Linked DNA regions of Homo sapiens: all the other regions are linked to region 5. Evidence: promoter capture Hi-C in 16 types of primary human blood cells and fetal thymus (Javierre and others, 2016). All regions are on one chromosome and are shown on one strand. Each heading gives the region's core, a stretch centred on a gene start or on the middle of the fragment in contact. The rest is flanking DNA. Distances are from core to core; before and after follow the strand shown.

Evidence for each region. The method cuts DNA at HindIII sites, captures the fragments that hold promoters and counts their contacts. A CHiCAGO score of 5 or more calls a contact.
Region 1: a fragment that was not itself captured here is called in contact with the fragment with the promoter of CYP17A1 in region 5 in 6 of 17 cell types (M0 macrophages, M1 macrophages, endothelial precursors and 3 more); the score reaches 7.7 in M0 macrophages.
Region 2: a fragment that was not itself captured here is called in contact with the fragment with the promoter of CYP17A1 in region 5 in 3 of 17 cell types (erythroblasts, M1 macrophages and M0 macrophages); the score reaches 7.3 in erythroblasts.
Region 3: a fragment that was not itself captured here is called in contact with the fragment with the promoter of CYP17A1 in region 5 in 2 of 17 cell types (erythroblasts and megakaryocytes); the score reaches 9.7 in erythroblasts.
Region 4: a fragment that was not itself captured here is called in contact with the fragment with the promoter of CYP17A1 in region 5 in 1 of 17 cell types (erythroblasts); the score reaches 8.1 in erythroblasts.
Region 6: a fragment that was not itself captured here is called in contact with the fragment with the promoter of CYP17A1 in region 5 in 1 of 17 cell types (erythroblasts); the score reaches 7.0 in erythroblasts.
Region 7: a fragment that was not itself captured here is called in contact with the fragment with the promoter of CYP17A1 in region 5 in 2 of 17 cell types (erythroblasts and naive CD4 T cells); the score reaches 6.2 in erythroblasts.

The regions. Positions count from the first base shown.
Region 1 is chr10:103,318,036-103,320,756 of GRCh38, reverse strand. The region is part of intron 8 of PCGF6 (polycomb group ring finger 6); the gene reads left to right. Among named protein-coding and RNA genes, the nearest start is that of PCGF6, 32 kb to the left of the region's middle. The HindIII fragment of the contact is 3,787 bases long and covers 1-2,721 here.
Region 2 is chr10:103,278,413-103,281,112 of GRCh38, reverse strand. All of the region lies in intron 1 of INA (internexin neuronal intermediate filament protein alpha), which reads right to left. Among named protein-coding and RNA genes, the nearest start is that of INA, 2.6 kb to the right of the region's middle. The HindIII fragment of the contact is 1,979 bases long and covers 459-2,437 here.
Region 3 is chr10:103,100,363-103,103,062 of GRCh38, reverse strand. It overlaps NT5C2 (5'-nucleotidase, cytosolic II), which reads left to right. Exons shown (of 19, transcript NM_001351169.2): 7 at 1,737-1,828; 8 at 1,961-2,018. Among named protein-coding and RNA genes, the nearest start is that of NT5C2, 92 kb to the left of the region's middle. The HindIII fragment of the contact is 6,803 bases long and covers 1-2,700 here.
Region 4 is chr10:103,118,344-103,121,043 of GRCh38, reverse strand. All of the region lies in intron 4 of NT5C2 (5'-nucleotidase, cytosolic II), which reads left to right. Among named protein-coding and RNA genes, the nearest start is that of NT5C2, 74 kb to the left of the region's middle. The HindIII fragment of the contact is 5,128 bases long and covers 1-2,700 here.
Region 5 is chr10:102,836,151-102,838,850 of GRCh38, reverse strand. It overlaps CYP17A1 (cytochrome P450 family 17 subfamily A member 1), which reads left to right and starts at 1,438. Exons shown (of 8, transcript NM_000102.4): 1 at 1,438-1,786. The coding sequence starts at 1,490. RefSeq lists a promoter at 1,199-1,478. The HindIII fragment of the contact is 11,808 bases long and covers 1-2,700 here.
Region 6 is chr10:103,151,842-103,154,541 of GRCh38, reverse strand. All of the region lies in intron 3 of NT5C2 (5'-nucleotidase, cytosolic II), which reads left to right. Among named protein-coding and RNA genes, the nearest start is that of NT5C2, 40 kb to the left of the region's middle. The HindIII fragment of the contact is 402 bases long and covers 1,191-1,592 here.
Region 7 is chr10:103,222,776-103,225,475 of GRCh38, reverse strand. No RefSeq gene overlaps it. Among named protein-coding and RNA genes, the nearest start is that of RPEL1, 22 kb to the left of the region's middle. The HindIII fragment of the contact is 5,826 bases long and covers 1-2,700 here.

The sequences.
Region 1 (2,721 bases), core at 170-2,669, 480 kb before region 5:
TGGCAGATCAAATTTTAAAAACAAGACAATTCCAAAAGTTTAAAAAATACAGATCTTTTTTTTTTTGAGACAAAGTTTCACTGTTTTTGCCCAGGATGGAGTGCAATGGTGCGATGATGTCGGCTCACCGCAACCTCCGCCTCCTGGGTTCAAGCGATTATCCTGCCTCAGCCTCCTGAGTAGCTGGGATTACAGGCATGCGCCACCATGCCTGGCTAATTTTCTAGTTTTTTTAGTAGACAGAGTTTCTCCATGTTGGCCAGGCTGGTCTTGAACTCCCAGCCTCAGGCAATCTGCCCACCTCGGCCTCCCAAAGTGCTGGGATTACAAGTGTGAGCCACCGCGCCCGGCCATCATGTGTTCTTAAGAAAGATTTAAGTTCATTTAAAATTTAGAGATCAATAATTATCCAAATATGTTTCTTTCTCATAGAGACTCCAGTGTCTCAGGGTTACTGTGGTTGATTTAGTGGTATTTACTCTTTGATGTCTTATTGTATTTTGCTTTGTTTGATATTCAGACCTTATTTTGCTTTTATGAGATGAAATTTAGAACATACACCTCACATTGATCACTAAAAATTCTTCTATAAGATGTGATATTTGATTTTGTTAATCCTGCCATAACTAATTCCATCTTAAAAGTTAGGCTGGCCAGGCATGGTGGCTCATACCTGTAATCTCAGCATTTTGGGAGGCTGAGGCGGGCGGATCACGAGGTCAAGAGATGGAGACCATCCTGGCCCACATGGTGAAACCCCATCTCTACTAAAAATACAAAAATTAGCTGGGCATGGTGGTATGCACCTGTATAGTCCCAGCTACTCGGGAAGATGAGGCAGGAGAATCACATGAATCCAGGAGGTGGAGGTTGCGGTGAGCCGAGATCGCACCACTGCACTACAGCCTGGCGACAGAGCAAGACTCCATCTCAAAAAAGTTAGGTTATTATTATTACTTATTTGGTGTATGATATTAAGCCTTCTATTAAATTTAGTTTCCAAATAATTTTTTAAGGACTAATATATGATGTTTCCATACCATTTATTATATATTGTTACTAAATTGAGGGTCTATGTATTTGACCTTAGGAGTACAAAGATGAGACAAAATTCATGCCATCAGGGGACTCAGAATTTTGTAGGAAAGATATATAAGTAAACAACTAACTAACAATAGGATGTAATGAATGCAACAGTGGAGATAACACAAAAGTGAATGATTTAACTCAGGAATGGGTTTGAAGAACAAATAGGAATTTGCCAGACACAGAAAAAAAGAACTTAGTAGCAAAGAAGAGTATGTATGGCCAGGTCCGGTGGCTCACGCTTGTAATCCCAGCACTTTGGGAGGCCGAGGCGGGCACATCACAAGGTCAAGAGATCGAGACCATCCTGGCCAACATGGTGAAACCCCGTCTCTACTAAAAATACAAAAAAAAAATTAGCTGGGCATGGTGGTACGCCTGTAGTCTCAGCTACTCAGGAGGCTGAGGCAGGAGAATCGCTTGAACCCAGGAGGCGGAGGTGGCAGTGAGCCGAGATCCCACCACTGCATTCCAGCCTGGGCGGCAGAGTGAGACTCCATCTCGAAAAGAAGAGTATGTATGATCAAAGGAATGAGCCAGTGTGGCTTATCAAAGCACACTGATTGAAAAATCTTAACTTGGAAGCTCTAGCATGATCTTGCTTTTAAAAAGATGAGGACTTTTTCTCCTTTTAATAAGACTACTTTCATGGTCTGATTTCTGCTCTGAGATTCAAAAATATTTTTGTTATCTCTTCTTGATACTCCAGAGGGTAAGATATTATGCACAAAAGAGTTAACGTATCAGCCTTGAGGCTGCTGTCGTTAGAAGGGCCTGCTTACAAAGCTGGCCTTTGGCTATCGAGGAACTAGGCCTGCAAAAAGTTTCCTACACTAATGTGAAAAGTTTTCTAACTGCAATTTGGTAGTTGTTAGACAGCGAGTGCCAACAAAACCAACTTTTTTTTTCTTTTTTCTTTTTTTTTTTCAGACAGAGTCTCGCTCTGTCGCCCAGGCTGGAGTGCAGTGGTGCCATCTCAGCTCACTGCAGCCTCTGCCTCCCAGGTTCAAGCCATTCTCTGCCTCAGCCTCCTGAGTAGCTGGGATTACAGGCGACCGCCACCATGCCCGGCTAATTTTTTTGTATTTTTGGTAGAGACAGGGTTTTACCATCTTGGCCAGGCTGGTCTTGAACTGCTGACCTTGTGATCCGCCTGCCTCAGCCTCCCAAAGTGCTAGGATTACAGGTGTGCGCCACCGCACCCGCACTTTTTTCTTTTTTTTTTTTTGAGATGGAGTCTCCCTCTGTTACCCAGGCTAGAGTGCAGTGGCGCGATCTCGGTTCACTACAACTTCTGACTCCCAGGTTTGAGTGATCCTCCTGCCTCAGCCTCCTGAGTAGCTGGGATTACAGGTGTCTGCCACCACACCCAGCTTATTTTTGTATTTTTTGTAGAGACAGGGTTTTGCCATGTTGGCCAAGCTGGTCTCGAACTCCTGACCTCAGGTGATCTGCCCGTCTCGGCCTCCCAAAGTGCTGGGATTACAGGCGTGAGCCACCGCACCCAGTTGATCCCATTTTTTTTAAAGCAAAAAATGAATAACAGAAAAACCCACATGCACACATAGTGTTCTAGGACCATACACATCAAACTCTTAGAAACTGACCAACCCCAGCTGGGTGCGGTGGCTCATG
Region 2 (2,700 bases), core at 199-2,698, 440 kb before region 5:
CAAGGGGCCAGCCCCTTCCTGCTATTTAATTAGGCTGTACTCCAATCTCATAATGGAGAAAAAAGAGAAGACTTGGCTTGTCTCCCTGGAGAGCATTAACCTGCGGTGATCTTGATCATTCAGCAAGGTCTTTCAAGGAAAGCTTCAACTTTCCAAGACTGACCACAGTAGAGGTCTGAGACCCTGAGTACCCTCCAAGAATGTCTTTGGACATCTTTAACAGAACTAGGACTCTAATGGTGCCGAAGTGGCTATGTAGGCACCAGCATTGCCCTATGTCAGAAATGGAAACCCCATCAGCTTTTTATGCAGAGGGGAGTTGCATTTGGCTTTTGAAGACAATAGCCTTAGCTCTTCCTAATCTCTTCTCTTGCCTGATTCAGACTCTCTCATCCACTATTGTGTACTTACTGTGTCACCGTGAATCATTTTTTACCCTTTCAAAAGTGTAAGAAGCTTTCTCTCCTTAAATAGGCTATCAGCTATCTGGGGCAGAGAAGATGGGACTTTAATGGGGCCTTCCTATGTTTCATAGAGGGTGCCAAGTTTGAAAAGAAAAATGGCCCTACCACTAATCTCTGTAGCAGAAGAAGGAGAACAGCCTCCCATTACTGCAGTGAAAGGTGGGGATGAGATGAGAGGGCAAGAAAACAATGGCTAAATCTCACTGTAGAAAGGGAGGCTTTTCACCTTGGTCAGCACTGCTAAGATTGTTAGAACAGTCAGAGACACCCTTGTGGCATCAGGCCGTTAGGATCTGCAGGTAAGACTTGAGCTCCACCTTAGCCTTAGGTCCCAAGGAGTAGGGAACCAGCTCTCTGTTGTCTGACCTCCTCTTCCACTCCCATCAGCAGGTCCTCTGTGGCTCTAAAGGCTCAAGCTGATGGGGGCAGCACCGCAGAGCTGCAGATGCTGCAGTTTCTCTGTTGTTGTTTTTTGTTTGTTTCCTGTAGACCATGTCTGGATGACGCTACCATTGTCTAATGATGAAAGCCTTTTACAGCAAACAAGCCAGGCAAAACTGTCACTACTTCTTAGAATGTATGGGCTATAACAAGCAGAGAAAATGGAGAAGCCCAATTCAGCTGGCAGCTCTGAGTAAGTTATCCTTTTTTTGTAGAAATACTGGGCTAGCCCTCCAGAAGACCACCTAGCTCGTACTTGGAGGCTTCTAGAAGAAAAAAATGAAGTCTCAATTAGCCAAATGTGATTAATTCAGGCCATCCAGGGGTTAGGGTACATAATGAAAAGTTCAAGTTATGGATTTTGAGGCAGAAATGGAAGTACTTATTTGAATGATAATGCAATACCAAACTAACCTAAACAGTCCAAGCAGGCTTTTTTCCTTTATCAAAGGAAGTTATTGTAACAAACAGCAAATACCTGCACATCAATAAGAATTCTTTAGCTTCTGATTAAAATGTTACTTTTGAGATTTCATTCCTTTCTTGGTTCTATTTTACCAATGTTCCAAGCCCTATTAATCTCACCAAATGTAAACTTTAATCCTAGCTAGAATTATTGCAAGTTTCTGAATTATAGTCATTCTATTCAAAGGAGCTTTTATTGTACCTTGAAACCGAACCACACTATTCCAATTCTTTTCTACACCTTCCATTTACCCTGTCCCCTGCCTCTGTGCCATTTGCGGTCATAATCCCAGAATTTCTTATATAGTAAAACTGAAGACACAGTGGCCTTTGTTGGGAAGAAATAGCCAATCAATACCATCACAGGAGCTTAGAGGACAGGGAAATATGGAAAAAATACATACACTAGAACAAAGAAAAACCATCTCTGTGACTTATCACATGCACTTACAATGAAAAAAATACTAACAAAACAGGAATTTTCAAGTGGGACCTCACAGCTGCTGAGCAAATTAAGTGTTTTTTGTTTAGTGCTAAGCCATCCATGAAAGCCAAAACTGATGTTGTCTATGAGGTGACCTTTGATTGCAGGTAGCCAAGACTGATGTGTTGGTGTTGCAGGAAAAAAAAAATCAAAGCAGTTAATTGCCTAGAGATTCATAACTGGGACACGAGACAGGAGAGACATAATTTCTGAGATGGGAAGAACTCGAGATCAGCACCGTGGACAGCGCCCCGACCTTTCACGTTTTGCCAACCGGCGAACGCTTTCTTAAGGAGGAAATGTCAGCTGGTGGACAAGGGAATCGTGTGTGTGTGTGTGTGTGTGTGTGTGTGTGCTGGTGGACAAGGGAATCGTGTGTGTGTGTGTGTTGGGGAGGTGGGTAGAGCAGGGTGGTTACTACTAGCTCAAGCATCGCTCAGCTTGTTGGCTCCCAATCTCTACTTTTTGGAGCGCGAAAGTCAAGAAAATGGGATAGGACTCTTCCCAGTTCAGGATCGCATTCTTCCTTCAGCCCTGAAGCAGACCATACTCCATAAATAACTTCTAGGGCGCACAGAAAGCTTTTCAAAGTCAACCAAACAAGCCAGATAGCCGAGACAGCACCGCCCACGTAACCTGCCCCGTTGGGCTCAGTCTTACTTTGGGTGGGGCACTGTTCTCCGGGTCGCCGGTGTGTGTAGGCCCGCTTGCTGACAGACAGGCAGAGTTGGGTTTTCGAACCTCAAATAAATTTAAGGGCTTCTTTGTTTGAAGGGCTGGGGCAGGGACATAAATGAGGGGCGTTCCCTAAAATTAACATTAAAGACTCCAGGGTTTTTTGTTAAC
Region 3 (2,700 bases), core at 60-2,559, 260 kb before region 5:
GTTTTCTTCTAGAAGTGTTTTTGCATCTTTAACAAATTCTGCTTCACTGGCTTTTTTCTTTTAAACCTTGAATTTTCTTCATGGTTCTGTTCTGTCTCTTCTCTTCCTTCTCTGCACACTAAGTGGTTTCATCTCCTCTAATACTTTTCATGATTCCATCTAGTATCTGTACGTAGATGATCTCAGTTATCTCTCAAGGCTGAATCTCTTTTAAGTTCTTGACCTTTGTTTCTAATTGCCTAATAAAAATCAGTTTACTTCAAACTTAGTATCACTAAAATAGAACTACTCTCACATCACTTCTTATCTAGTTTTCATATTTCTGTTCATCGTACCAACCACCTCTCAGAGACACCTTAGCATGGACATCATCATCTTTGACTCTTTAATGTTCCCCCAGCCAAATCTGCTCAGTTTGCCGGGTCTTATTTTACCTTGGTAATCTCTCTTGAATATATGAGTGAGCTGAGATCACGCCACTGCACTCCAGCCTGGCCGACAGAGTGAGACTCTGTCTCAAAAAAAAAAAAAGAAAAAAGAAAAAATTCTGAGAGTCAACTGGGTGATTCTGGGTTGCACAGCTGATCTCTCTATGCTCTTTCACATGTCTGTGGTTAGCTGGTGGGTGACCTGGCATCTGATCTACAATGGCCTCATGCACATGTCTGGCATTCACAGGCTGTTGGCCGAGTGCTTCATTTCTACATGTAGCCTTCTATCCTCCAGCAGACTATCTCACTGTCATGCACATAGTAGTCCATGGTTCCAAGTGCTGCAAGAGAGATTAAGCCTCAATACACACATGTTTTTCTAGGTCTCTGCTTGGATCCCATTTGCTGCTATACAAGCCTATATTCAAGGATAGAGAAATAGACTGAGTTCTAATGGGAGGAGCCACAAAATTGCATCACAAAGAGACAGGAAGAATTTGTGGCCATTGTTGGAGTGCATCACATTGTCTTTCCCCAGTTTATCCTAAAACAGCCACTAATTTAATTTTGTTTTACAACTCAGCCCCGATGGGATTATCCTCTGCTTTAAAACTGTCAGTAGTACCCTCTTGCCCCTAAATGGTGTAGAAACAGTAGCTTAATCTGCCTCAACCCATCTTTCTAGCTTAATTTTTCTCTGCTCCCCTTTCTCTACCCAAGTTGGACTAGTTTCACAACTGGTCCACCTAGCCTTTAAGGCCCAGCTCATATACCAGCACGTGCATGAATCCTTCCTAGATTTTCCTCTCCTTAGTCCTCACATTTGCTTCTCTCTACCTCTTAAGTTGAAATGGTGTTCCCTTCTTTGGTTTTCTCATAAATGTTTGCACCTTTCTTGTAGTAGTTGTGATTTTTTACCTTATAATTATATGTGTATGTGACCCACCTCGCCCACCACACTGACAACTCTTTTAAGAGCTGGAACCTAAGCTGGACATCACACCTGTAATCCCAGCTACTTGGGAGGCTGAGGTGGGAAGATTGCTTGAGCAATCTTCAGGAGTTTGAGTCCAGCCTGGACTTAAAATAGCAAGACTGTCTTAAAAAAAAAAAAAAATTAAAATTAAAAAAAATAAAGAGCTGGAACCTGAACTCGTTCATCTTCATAGCTATCCATGCGTAATATTCGGAATTCTGTCTTGCACATAGCCATCAAAATATTTGAGTTAATTTTTGAATAATGCTATTTCCCAATTATTATAATGTTATTTTAAAAATCAGTTAATTTTTAAATTTTTCTTTCAGACCAGAAACTAGAGAACAGTATCCAAATAAATTTATCCAGCGAGATGATACTGAAAGATTTTACATTCTGAACACACTATTCAACCTACCAGGTAGATTCATTCTATGCTTATTTATACTGATGCTTTCCCTTCTGTGACCATTAGTCTGTATTCAAGGGAGGTAATGAAATAAGTTTGAATTATTTCATTATAGCTTATGAATATCTGTTCTTCATTTTTCAGAGACCTACCTGTTGGCCTGCCTAGTAGATTTTTTTACTAATTGTCCCAGATATACCAGGTATGTATATACTATAATTATTTTTTTCCAATTGATTTTTAAAATTAATGCACAGGGTTTTAGAGAACTGGCCATTGTAGGTCTTTTCTGCTTTTCTAAAGTGAATTTAGTGCTAGTGAGAGATGCCACATTGCCAACCTGAGAGATGGGACAGCACCAGCAGCTCCATGCAGGCTCTCACCTCCCACACGGCCCCTCTCCTTGCCAGTGTGCTGCAGCCACCACTTCTGATTGGCTTCTCCTGGGAATGAAGACGGCCAGCAGAGGTGCTAATTGTGACAACTGAGTGGGAGGTTTGTGTGATGATTATCTGTCCAAGCAGAATTACACTAAAACCCCCCAACTCATTTCACAGCAGCTACCCAGGAGCCATTCAGGGATGGTAATTTAATTTCATTCCCAGGCCAGGCAAGATTTGATTAAGGAATAAATACTGTGTATCTTATCAGAAGTAAAATTTTGCGTAAGTCTTAAACAAGTTATCCTCTCCCTTTAGGGAGAATTATATAGCCAATACTGAAAGTTTAGCCATCTATATACCAGAGTTGGCTAACTTCTTATCCTCTTTGGGCTTTATCCACTTGAAGACACTAAATTTGGTGGAAAGCTGAGTCACTGAACTAAATAAAAAAATGGACAGTACCTTTGTACTTAGGGACAGTGTCAGGAAAGTCAGGGTGGA
Region 4 (2,700 bases), core at 119-2,618, 280 kb before region 5:
TACAATACTTGTTTTGTGTCTGGCTTATTTCTTTTAGCATATTTTTTAAATTTGTCCATGTTATAGCATATATTACTTTTTGAGACTGAATAATATTCTACTGTAGGTATATACATTTGTTTATCTGTTCATCTGTTGATGGACATGGGGATTGTCTCCACCTTTTGGCTATTATGAATAGGCTGCTGTGAACATTGGTATTTAAGCATCTGTTTGAGTTCCTGCTTCCTGCTTTCAGTTGTTTTGGGTATATACCCAGGAATGGAATTGCTGGATCATAACGTAAATCTATGTTTAGCTTTTTAAAGAACTGCCAAACTGTTCTCTATAGTGGCTGTAACATCTTACATCCCCACCAGCAATACATGAATGAGAGTTCCAGTTTCTTCACATCTTGGCAATACTTATTTTCAGGTTTTTTGTTGTTGTTTGATAATACTCATTCTACTGGGTGTGAAGTTACGGTATCTTATGGTTTTGATTTCATGTTTCTCTAATGGCTGGTGATATTAAGCATCATTTCATGTGTTTATTTAGTCAGTTATATAACTTCTTTGGAGAAATATCAGTTTTTTAAAATTAGGTTTTTAAAATAACTGTGGAGTTACACATTCTGCATATTAATCTTTATATATTCTGGATATTAATCCCTCATCAGATACACAATTTGCAAATATTGTCTCTCATTCTGTGGGTTTTCTTTTCCCTCTCTTGATCATGGCTTTTGAGGCACAAAAGTTTTTAATTTTGAAGTCCAGTTTATCTGTTTTTTTCTTTTGTTGCCAGTGCTTTTTGCTGTCATAGCTGTGAAATCATTCCCAAATCCAATATAAGGAAGATTTTCTGCCATGTTTTCTTCTAAGAGTTTTATAGTTTTAACTCCTACATTTAGGTCTTTGATCCATTTTGAGTTTACTTCTTTTCTTTTCTTCCTTTTTTTTTTTTGAAACAGGGTCTCACACTGTCATCCAGGCTGGAGTGCAGTGGTGTGATCTCAGCTCACTGCAACCTCTGCCTCCCAGGCTCAAGTGATTCTCCCATTTCAGCCTCCCAAGTAGCTGGGACTATAGGCTCGTGCCATCATGCCTGGCTAATTTTTTTATTTTTTGTAGAAATGGGGTTTCACCATGTTGCCCAGGCTGGTCTCTAATTCCTGGACTCAAGCAGTCCACCAGCCTCAGCCTTCCAGAGTGCTGGGATTACAGGCATGAGACTGCAACTGGCCACGCCTTTTTTTTTGTTTAATGAAACCAATGACAATGTAAAAGTCTGTGCTTTAGCATTTCTTCTTAAAGAACGATGAAACTCTTTGATGAATTAAGATGGAAGATTAGCTGAGCTGAACTTACTATTGATAGCGTGTAAACTGGTTGCATCTATTTGGAGTTCTTACTGTGACGAGAGGTCTCTGAAAGGAATGTATTTGTTGAAAAGTCTTTGGTACAAAACAAGAAAGGTAACCTTTATCAAAAAGACCAAAGAAATTCTCATTGTCCTAGGTCATGAAATAATACTCAGGGCATCCTCCTCACAACTTGGAAAATATAGAACTTGTGCATTACCTCATCCCACTGGCTTCCAGATTATATGTGCAAGAGATATTTGTGTGAGGGAATGAGCACTTCTAAGTCAGTGAAAGCTACCAACCTGTATATACCCTCTGACTTTTTTTTGGAGACAAAATTTTGCTCTTGTTGCCCAGGCTGGAGTACAATGGCGCGATCTCAGCTCACCGCAACCTCTGCCTCCTGGATTCAAATGATTCTCCTGCCTCAGCCTCCTGAGTAGCTGGGATTTCAGGCATGTGCCACCATGCCTGGCTAATTTTGTATTTTTAGTAGAGATGGGGTTTCTCCATGTTGGTCAGGCTGGTCTTGAACTCCCCATCTCAGGTGATCCACCCATCTTGGCTTCCCAAAGTACTGGGATTACAGGTGTGAGCCACTGTGCCCGGCCCTCTGACTTATTCTTGAGAGATTTATCAGTTTGTGAATGGATCAAAAGCATACAACTGAAAATTAAAGAACAGAAAAATAGATGTAGTTTGACTTACTACATCTTAAAAATGCATTCATGATCTCCCTTAGTGATCTTTTTTCTTAAGAGTTTTTGGACTCTTGCCCTCCCCCACAAATAGGGTAGAATAAGAGAATAAGCTGAGTATTTAAACTAGGGTAACAGATAAAAAGAAAAAAAAAATTCCCTCTCCAAAAAGAGATGATCCCTTAAAAAACAAACAAACAAAAAAGATAATTGTGGTTAATAAAATTAATAAAAATAAATTAGAAAACATTCATAAAACTAAACAAAGTAAAAATCTAATCAGAATATATCATAAGGACTCAACCCCTAAAGGAGATTTGTGAAGATGAAATGTGATGATTTTGTCCAGGCATGGTGGCTTATTCCTGTAATTAATGCCAGCACTTTGGGAGGCCGAGGCAGATGGATTGCTTGCACCTAGGAGTCCAGGACCAGCCTGAGCAACATAACAAAACCGCATCTCTACAAAAAATGCAAAAATTAGTTGAGCGTGGTGCACGTCTGTAATCCCAGCTACTCTGGAGGCTGAGGTGGGAGAATTGCTTGATCCTGGGAGGCGGAGGTTGCAGTGAGCTGAGATTGTGCCACTGCACTTCAGCCTGGGCTACAGAATGAGACCTATCCAAAAAAAAAAAAAAAGGAAAAGAAATATGATAA
Region 5 (2,700 bases), core at 189-2,688:
ACATGCAAGTAGGGAAGATATCACTAAATTCTTTTCCTAGCAAGGAGTATTATTATTAATACCCTGGGAAAGGAATGCATTCCTGGGGGGAGGTCTATAAACAGCCGCTCTGGGAATGTCTATCTTGTGCAGTTGAGATAAGGACTGAGATACGCCCTGGTCTCCTGCAGTACCCTCAGGCTTACTAGGGTGGGGAAAAACTCCGCCCTGGTAAATTTGTGGTCAGACCGGTTCTCTGCTGTCGAACCCTGTTTGCTGTTGTTTAAGGTGTTTATCAAGACAGTATGTGCACCGCTGAACATAGACCCTCATCTGTAGTTCTGCTTTTGCCCTTTGCCTTGTGATCTTTGTTGGACCCTTATCAGTGGTTCTGCTTTTGCCCTTTGCCTTGTGATCTTTGTTGGACCCTTATCGGTAGTTCTGCTTTTGCCCTTTGTCCTTTCCCTCAGAAGCATGTGATCTTTGTTAGACACTTATTAGTAGTTCTGCTTTTCGCCCTTTGAAGCATGTGATCTTTGTACCTACTCCCTGTTCTTACACCCCCTCCCCTTTTTGAAACCCTTAATAAAAACTTGCTGGTTTGAGGCTCAGGTGGGTATCACAGTCCTACCGATATGTGATGCCACCCCCGGCGGCCCAGCTGTAAAATTCCTCTCTTTATACTGTCTCTCTTTATTTCTCAGCCGGCTGACACTTATAGAAAGAACCTACGTTGAAATATTGGGGGTGGGTTCCCCCAGTACGCTAGTCCTGCTGATGAGCAAAGAAGGTGTTGATGGCATTTTGATCAACAAGAAATGTTATGAAACGGCCTCCCACCTCTGGCATTCCTAGTACTGACCTATCTCTCCCTTCCCTTCCACCGCTCCCCACAGCTTAGCACCCCTTTCGTTCCCATACACATGTACATTTTTATTTTGGGGACCATTAACCCACAGCCCTTATCGCTGCCAAAACCACATGGGCTGGAGGGCCAGGGCTGCATGGACAGTCACACCACTGCACACCAGCCTGGTGATGGAGCAAGACTCTGAAAAAAAAAAAAAGAAGCATAAAAGACCTTTAACAGTCCCTGCTACTTGTGACCCTCCTGAATCTGTCATCTGTCCAGTGATTTTGATTTTGCAACATGGAAAGTTCCAAGCCTTGACTCCTGAGCCCAGATACCATTCGCACTCTGGAGTCATTCAAGCATGGGGAGCTCCTCAGAGGGTGATCAACTGACCTCCCTTACCTAGCTCCTCCTCCGGAGGTTTGCCCTGGAGTTGAGCCAGCCCTTGAGGAGGCCTTCACTCCCACCGCCTCTCTCCCTTCTGGATATGAGCTCAGGCCTGGCTGGGCTCCAGGAGAATCTTTCCACAAGGCAAGAGATAACACAAAGTCAAGGTGAAGATCAGGGTAGCCCTTTAAAAGGCCTCCTTGTGCCCTAGAGTTGCCACAGCTCTTCTACTCCACTGCTGTCTATCTTGCCTGCCGGCACCCAGCCACCATGTGGGAGCTCGTGGCTCTCTTGCTGCTTACCCTAGCTTATTTGTTTTGGCCCAAGAGAAGGTGCCCTGGTGCCAAGTACCCCAAGAGCCTCCTGTCCCTGCCCCTGGTGGGCAGCCTGCCATTCCTCCCCAGACACGGCCATATGCATAACAACTTCTTCAAGCTGCAGAAAAAATATGGCCCCATCTATTCGGTTCGTATGGGCACCAAGACTACAGTGATTGTCGGCCACCACCAGCTGGCCAAGGAGGTGCTTATTAAGAAGGGCAAGGACTTCTCTGGGCGGCCTCAAATGGTAAGTGGTGCCCATCTCCTCCCTGCCCCCTTCACCACCCCCTGGGATTGTTCAGGTCTTCAGACCATGCCTAGAATGGGGCTTCCAGCTCCAACAACCTGTAATTCTTCCCAAAGTAGACTAGTGGGATGATGTGAAGGGAGTGAACCTTCAGACCCCCACCCAGCCTCTAAATTAGGCAGGAAGAATTAAAGGAATGTCTCCTCTACCAGGCTGCCCAGGAGGTGGGATGGGAGGACCACAGTGGTCTGAGGGGTCAAGGAATCCTCACTCCACTCCTCTCTCTGAGCCTAGACTTCTCTAATGGACTGAGAAGGTGCATGTACAGCACTTAGCCTAGCACCCAGCACAGTAAGTGCCCCTTATACAGCCAGGATTCATGTTACTTTTCATGGAAAATGGGGGCAGTGACTACTGTCCTCCATGAAAGCTGCTGGGGAGAATTAGCCTAGCTATTGCAGGCTGGGATTGCTGCTTTCCTGGTGCTATTTCCAGCTACTCAGGCTCACAGGGGCAGTTTTCTACAATGACATTTCAGGGTTGCTGATGAGCCTCCCACTCAGCAGGGCCCCCAGCCTCTCAGCATTTTTTTTTTTTTTTTTTTTTTTTGAGACAGAGTCTCTCTCTGTCGCCCAGCCTGGAGTGCAGTGGCCAATCTCAGCTCACTGCAACCTCTGCCTCCCGGGTTCAAGTGATTCTCCTGCCTCAGCCTCCTGAGTACCTGGGACTACAGGAGCATGCCACCATGCCCGCTAATTTTTTGTATTTTTAGTAGAGATGGTGTTTCACCATGTTAGCCAGGATGGTCTCGATCTCCTGACCTCGTGATCCTCCCACCTTAGCCTCCCAAAGTGCTAGGATTATAGGCGTAAGCCACTGTGCCCTGCCAGCCTCTCAGCTTTGATCAAGCCAAG
Region 6 (2,700 bases), core at 142-2,641, 320 kb before region 5:
AGCTGGAATTTAAGCCTTAGTTCTTCTAGTGCCCATTCTCTTTCCATTACACCATACTGCTTTTCTAAATAAACTGAAAATAATTTTCTTTTGTTTTTTCTTTTTTATTTTTTCTACCTTAAAGTCTTTTATCCCTTAATTTTATTTTGAATTTATAGTATTTAGTAGTGCTTTTAATTACTTAGTAACTATTTAAACATTTTAATAACAAAAAGAAACCTTTATGGTAAGATATTTAGGTAATATTTAAAGGGATAAAGCTTTTAAAAATTTTAAGCCTTAATTCAAGTAGTAGTTCTTTAAGGTATATGTATTTTATTTTTAATTTGAATCACCGTGAGGAGGATTTGCCATCTCAATGTTCTTAGACTTTAGCAGACTTATTTATTTCTTCCCCTGTTGCATAATCCCTATGCATTATATTGGTCGGGAGGCAGGAATGTTACAGATTCTTTTTTTTCAAAGCTCAGTTTGCTCTGAGATTTGGAATTAACCTTTAGAATGTTCTGGATTTATCCCCCATATGCCAAAGATCTGTAAATATCTTTTCACATGAGCTGAAATTTTCAGGCGATTAAGTGAAATATTTGTGAACGCAGATGTTTTGTTTAAAAGCAGTTAATGAAGTCAGAAAAAAAAATACCTCGCTGTGGAAATACTTTAGGTTCCTCCTGTAATATGATCTGCACATACTTCCTTCTCTTGTAATTCACATTGTTTATTTTCTGAGGGAGGAAATAACTACACTAATAATTAAAACATAAAATTATTTATCCTGTGTTTTTTGCTCCCAGAGTAAACTAAAAATGATTTTGACCGACCAGGGCTGCTTGATTCTGTGAAACTCACATTGTTTGCGTACTGTTGGAGGGCCTCATTAGGGGGTAAATTTGCTTTTTCTGTGTTTGCCAGTAACGATTCCTGTCTCTTACAGGAACTTGCCATTTGGATTGTCTCCTTCCTTAACTGGCCAGCCTTAAACAGTTCAGGCCATTAGTTATTTTTCCTAGTCTTGAAATTTTTAAAAAAATTATTCTTAAGTTTTCAAGTATTTAAAGCTGAGGATATTGGTCACTGAGATATTGCCTAGTTAGGGTTCGGCATTGTGCCCAAATTTGTTGGGCCTCTCAGGGCCTGAGTTCTCTGTGCTTTAACAAATGAGCTACAGTTCTCAAGAGATCAGTGAAGCTTGTTTGTTGATCCTGTATTCTCATCCAGAGGAAGTAGATCTTTGAGAATGTCTAAGGAAGGGTAAGTGATTTTATTATTCTTTCTCTTTCATTTTTCTCAGTGAAGAGGTATCATCTGCATGAATTAAAAGATTAATAAGCAGTGCTACCAGTCCGAGAGTGGAGGTAGAGGCAGAGATTGAAAGAAATTCAGCCCAAATCTTATAGTGTTTCATGTGTAATCTACTATAAAGTTGCTATTGTTGTTTTGAAAGACAGCACTGAGTAAGGGCAATCTTAATAGGAATTTTGTAAGATATAAGTACTTTGTTTACTCTGTGGTAAATTCATTTTGTTTTTCTGCAGAATGTATTTATCAAGATTGGAAGCAAACGGTGGTTTACCGAAGAATTGAGGGAAGCTTAAAAATTCAATGGCGTTTTAAAATAAGTTGTACCTTTAGAAAATGGTGTGAAATATTTAGTGAAAAACAGCCTATGATTTTGTTTCTGGGGCATGTAGGCAAAAAATAATTTAGAGTAGAATTCCCTATTCTAATTTGCTTTGCAATATAAGATAGTTCCATATTATTTTTGTATTATTTTCTCTTATGCTTCAGAGTCTGAATTATTACTGATTCTCTTTTTGTGACCACTATAATAAGTGATAAGTTAATAACTGCATACTGTTGGTTATTTCATTTCTAGCCTTCAGGCATAACTAGACCTGGTTAATTTTAGAGAGATGTTTCTTTTAATAAAATAGGACATAAATCTCTCAAAAAAATTCTTTAAAAATACAGTAAAAGTTTAGTTTTTATTTTTCTGGAATCTATTAATTATCTTTCTAGTTCTTTTGTTCTGTAAGAAAATTTGAAGTGGTTCCAGAGCCTCACATTTACAACTTATTTTAATCTAATCATGTATTGATTATGAACAAAATAAAATTGGCCCACTTTACTGCTATTTTTAGATTTCATTATTGAATAACGAGAACAACCAGGGGTATAAGTAATTCTGTATTATTTTTAGACCTTTTATGACATCACTAGAAATTTGAGGTTTCTTTTAAATGTGAAAATTATGAAAGGACTGCTGTTTTAGATTGGTATATTTTCTTAAAGGACTGCCTTTTTAGGTTGGTATATTTTCTTTCCTTCTACCACTGGCTATAGATAGGTAGGTGTTAAACCATTTTTATGATAAGGACTATCACAGGTGCTAGTATGTTTGTCAATCTTGTACACAGGGTTGTTTATAAAGCTATTATAGTTTGTAGATTTAAGATGAATTGTATTTCTAGACGCGGTTAAAGTTCTTGGAAGTAGTTAGTGCTAATTTTTACCCTATGGTAAAGTATATGTTAGACTTGGTTAGTTAGAGAAAGTTGGAGGGACCTATATTACCCCTCTAGGACACTGTAACGGCAGATTTTTTTTTTAGGTTTATCTCTAGGAGCCTCTGGAGCAATGTCTGTACTGTCCGAATGGATAATAAGTGCATTTGAAGTACATGGAGTATATAAATGACAT
Region 7 (2,700 bases), core at 70-2,569, 390 kb before region 5:
AAATACAAAAAAATTAGCTGGGCGTGGTGGCTGGCACCTGTGGTCCCAGCTACTTGGGAGGCTGAGGCAGGAGAATGGCGTGAAGCCAGGAAGTGGAGCTTGCCATGAGCCAAGATCACACCTCTGCACTCCAGCCTGGGCGACAGAGCAAGACTCTGTCTCAAAACAAAAACGAAAACAAAAAAATGTGTGTACCACTTCCGGCTGGGCGCAGTGGCTCACGCCTGTAATCCCAGCACTTTGGGAGGCCGAGGCAGGTGGATCACGAGGTCAGGAGCTCAAGACCAGCCTGGCCAAGATGGTGAAAACCCATCTCTACTAAAAATACAAAAATTAGCTGAGCTTGGTGACAGGTGCCTGTAATCCCAGCTACTTGGGAGGGTGAGGCAGGAGAATTGCTTGAACCCAGGCAGCAGAGGTTGCAGTGAGCCGAGATCATGCCATTGCACTCCAGCTTGGGCAACAAGGTGAGACTCCGTCTCAAAAAAGAAAAAAAAAATTGTGTACCACTTCCCCCGATCTCTTCCTCTTGCTCCAGCCACGTAAGACATGCCTGCTTCCCTTTTGCCTTCCACCATGATTTAAAGTTTCCTGAGGCCTCCCAGAAGGCTTCATGCTCCTGTACAGGCTGCAGAACCGTGAGCCAATTAAACTTCTTTTCTTTATAAATTACCCAATCTCATGTATTTCTTTATAGCAGGGTGAGAACAGACTAATACAGAAAATTGGTACTGGGAGTGTGGCATTGCTATAAAGATACTTGAAAATGTGGGAGCGGCTTGAGAACTGGATAAGGGGCAGAAGTTAGAACAGCCTGGAAGGCTCAGAAGAAGACAGGAAGATGAGAAAAAAGTTGGAACTTCCTAGAAACTGGTTAAATGGTTGTTACCAAAATGCTGATATTGAGCTGGACAATGAAGTCCAGGCTGAGGAGGTCTCAGATGGAAATGAGGAACTTATTGGAAACTGGAGCAAAGGTCACTTTTGTTATGTGTTAGCAAAGAGGTTGCAGGCATTGTGCCCCTGTCCTAGGGGTCTGTGGAACTTTGAACTTGAGAGTGATGATTTAGGGTATCTGGTGGGGAAATTTCTCAGCAGCAAAGCATTCAAGAAGTGACCTGGCTGCTTCTGACTACCTATGTTCATATGCATGAGCAAAGAAATGACATAAAACTGGAACTTGTATTTAAAAGGGAAGCAGAAGGTAAAAGTTTGGAAAATTTGCAGCCAGGCCCACATAGAAAGGAAAAACCATGCCTGTCGTCCAAGCTACTCAGGAGGCTGAAGTGGGAGGATCGCTTGAGCCCAGAAGGCAGAAGTTTCAGTGAGCCGAGATGGCGCCACTGCACTCCAACCTAGGCGACAGAGTGGGACTTTGTCTCAAAATTCAAGCTCACTACACAAATTTGCTTAAGTAAAGAGGAGCCAAATGCTGATAGCCAAGACAATGGGAAAAAGGCCTCAAAGGCATCTCAGAAACCTTTGCGGCAGCCCCTCTCATCACAGGCCTTGGGGCCTAGGAGGGAAGAATGGCTTTGTGGGCCAGGCCCAGGGCTTTGTCACCCTGTACAGCCTCAGGACACTGCTCCCTGCATCCTAGCCACTCCAGCTCCAGCTGTGGCTAAAAGTGGCTGTAGCTCCAGCCACTGCTCCAGAAGGTGCAAGCCATAAGCCTTGGCAGCTTCCATGTAATGCTAAGCCTACTGGTGCACAGAGTACAAGAGTTGAGGTTTGGGAGCCTCTGCCTAGATTTCAGAGGATTTGTGGAAAAGCCTTGATGTCCAAGCAGAAGCCTGCTGTAGAGGTGGAGCCTTATGGAGAACCTCTACTAGGGCAGTGGAGCCCCTACACAGAATCCCCATTGGGCACTGCTTAATGGAGCTGTGAGAAGAGGACCACCATCCTTCAGACCCCAGAATGGTAGATTCACTGGCAGCTTGCACCCTCCACCTAGAAGAGCTGTAGGCACTCAATTCCAGCCTATGAAAGCCACCATGGGGGCTGTACCCTGGAAAGCCTCAGGGGTGGAGTTGCCCAAGGCCTTGGGAGCCCACCCATAGCACCAGTGTGCACTAGATGTGAGACATGGAGTCAAAGGAAATTATTTTGGAGTTTTAAGATTCAGCTGGGCACAGTGGCTCATGCCTGTAATCCCAGCACTTTGGGAGGCCAAGGTGGGCGGATCATGAGGTCAGGAGTTCGAGACCAGCCTGGCCAATATGGTGAATACAAAAATATTCTACTAAAAATACAAAAATTAGCCAGGCACTTGCTAGTGGCGGCACTTGCCTGTAGTCCCAGCTACTTGGGAGGCTGAGACAGAAGAATTGCTTGAATCCAGGAGGCAGAGGTTGAAGTGAGATGAGATTGTGCCACTGCACTCCATGCACTCCAGCCTGGGTGACAGAGCAAGACTCCATCTCAAAAAAAAAAAAAAGATTTAATGACTGCCCTGCTGGGTTTCAAACTTGCATGGGGCCTGTAGCCTCTTTCTTTTGGCCAATTTTTCCCTTTTGGAATGGGAATATTTACCCAATGCCTGTACCCTCATTGTATCTTGGGAGTAACTAACCTGTTTTTTATTTTATAGGCTCACAGGCAGAAGGGACTTGCCTTGTCTCAGATGAGATTTGGGACTGTGGACTTTTGAGTTAATGCTGGAATGACTTAAGACTTTGGGGGCCATTGAGAATGCATGAT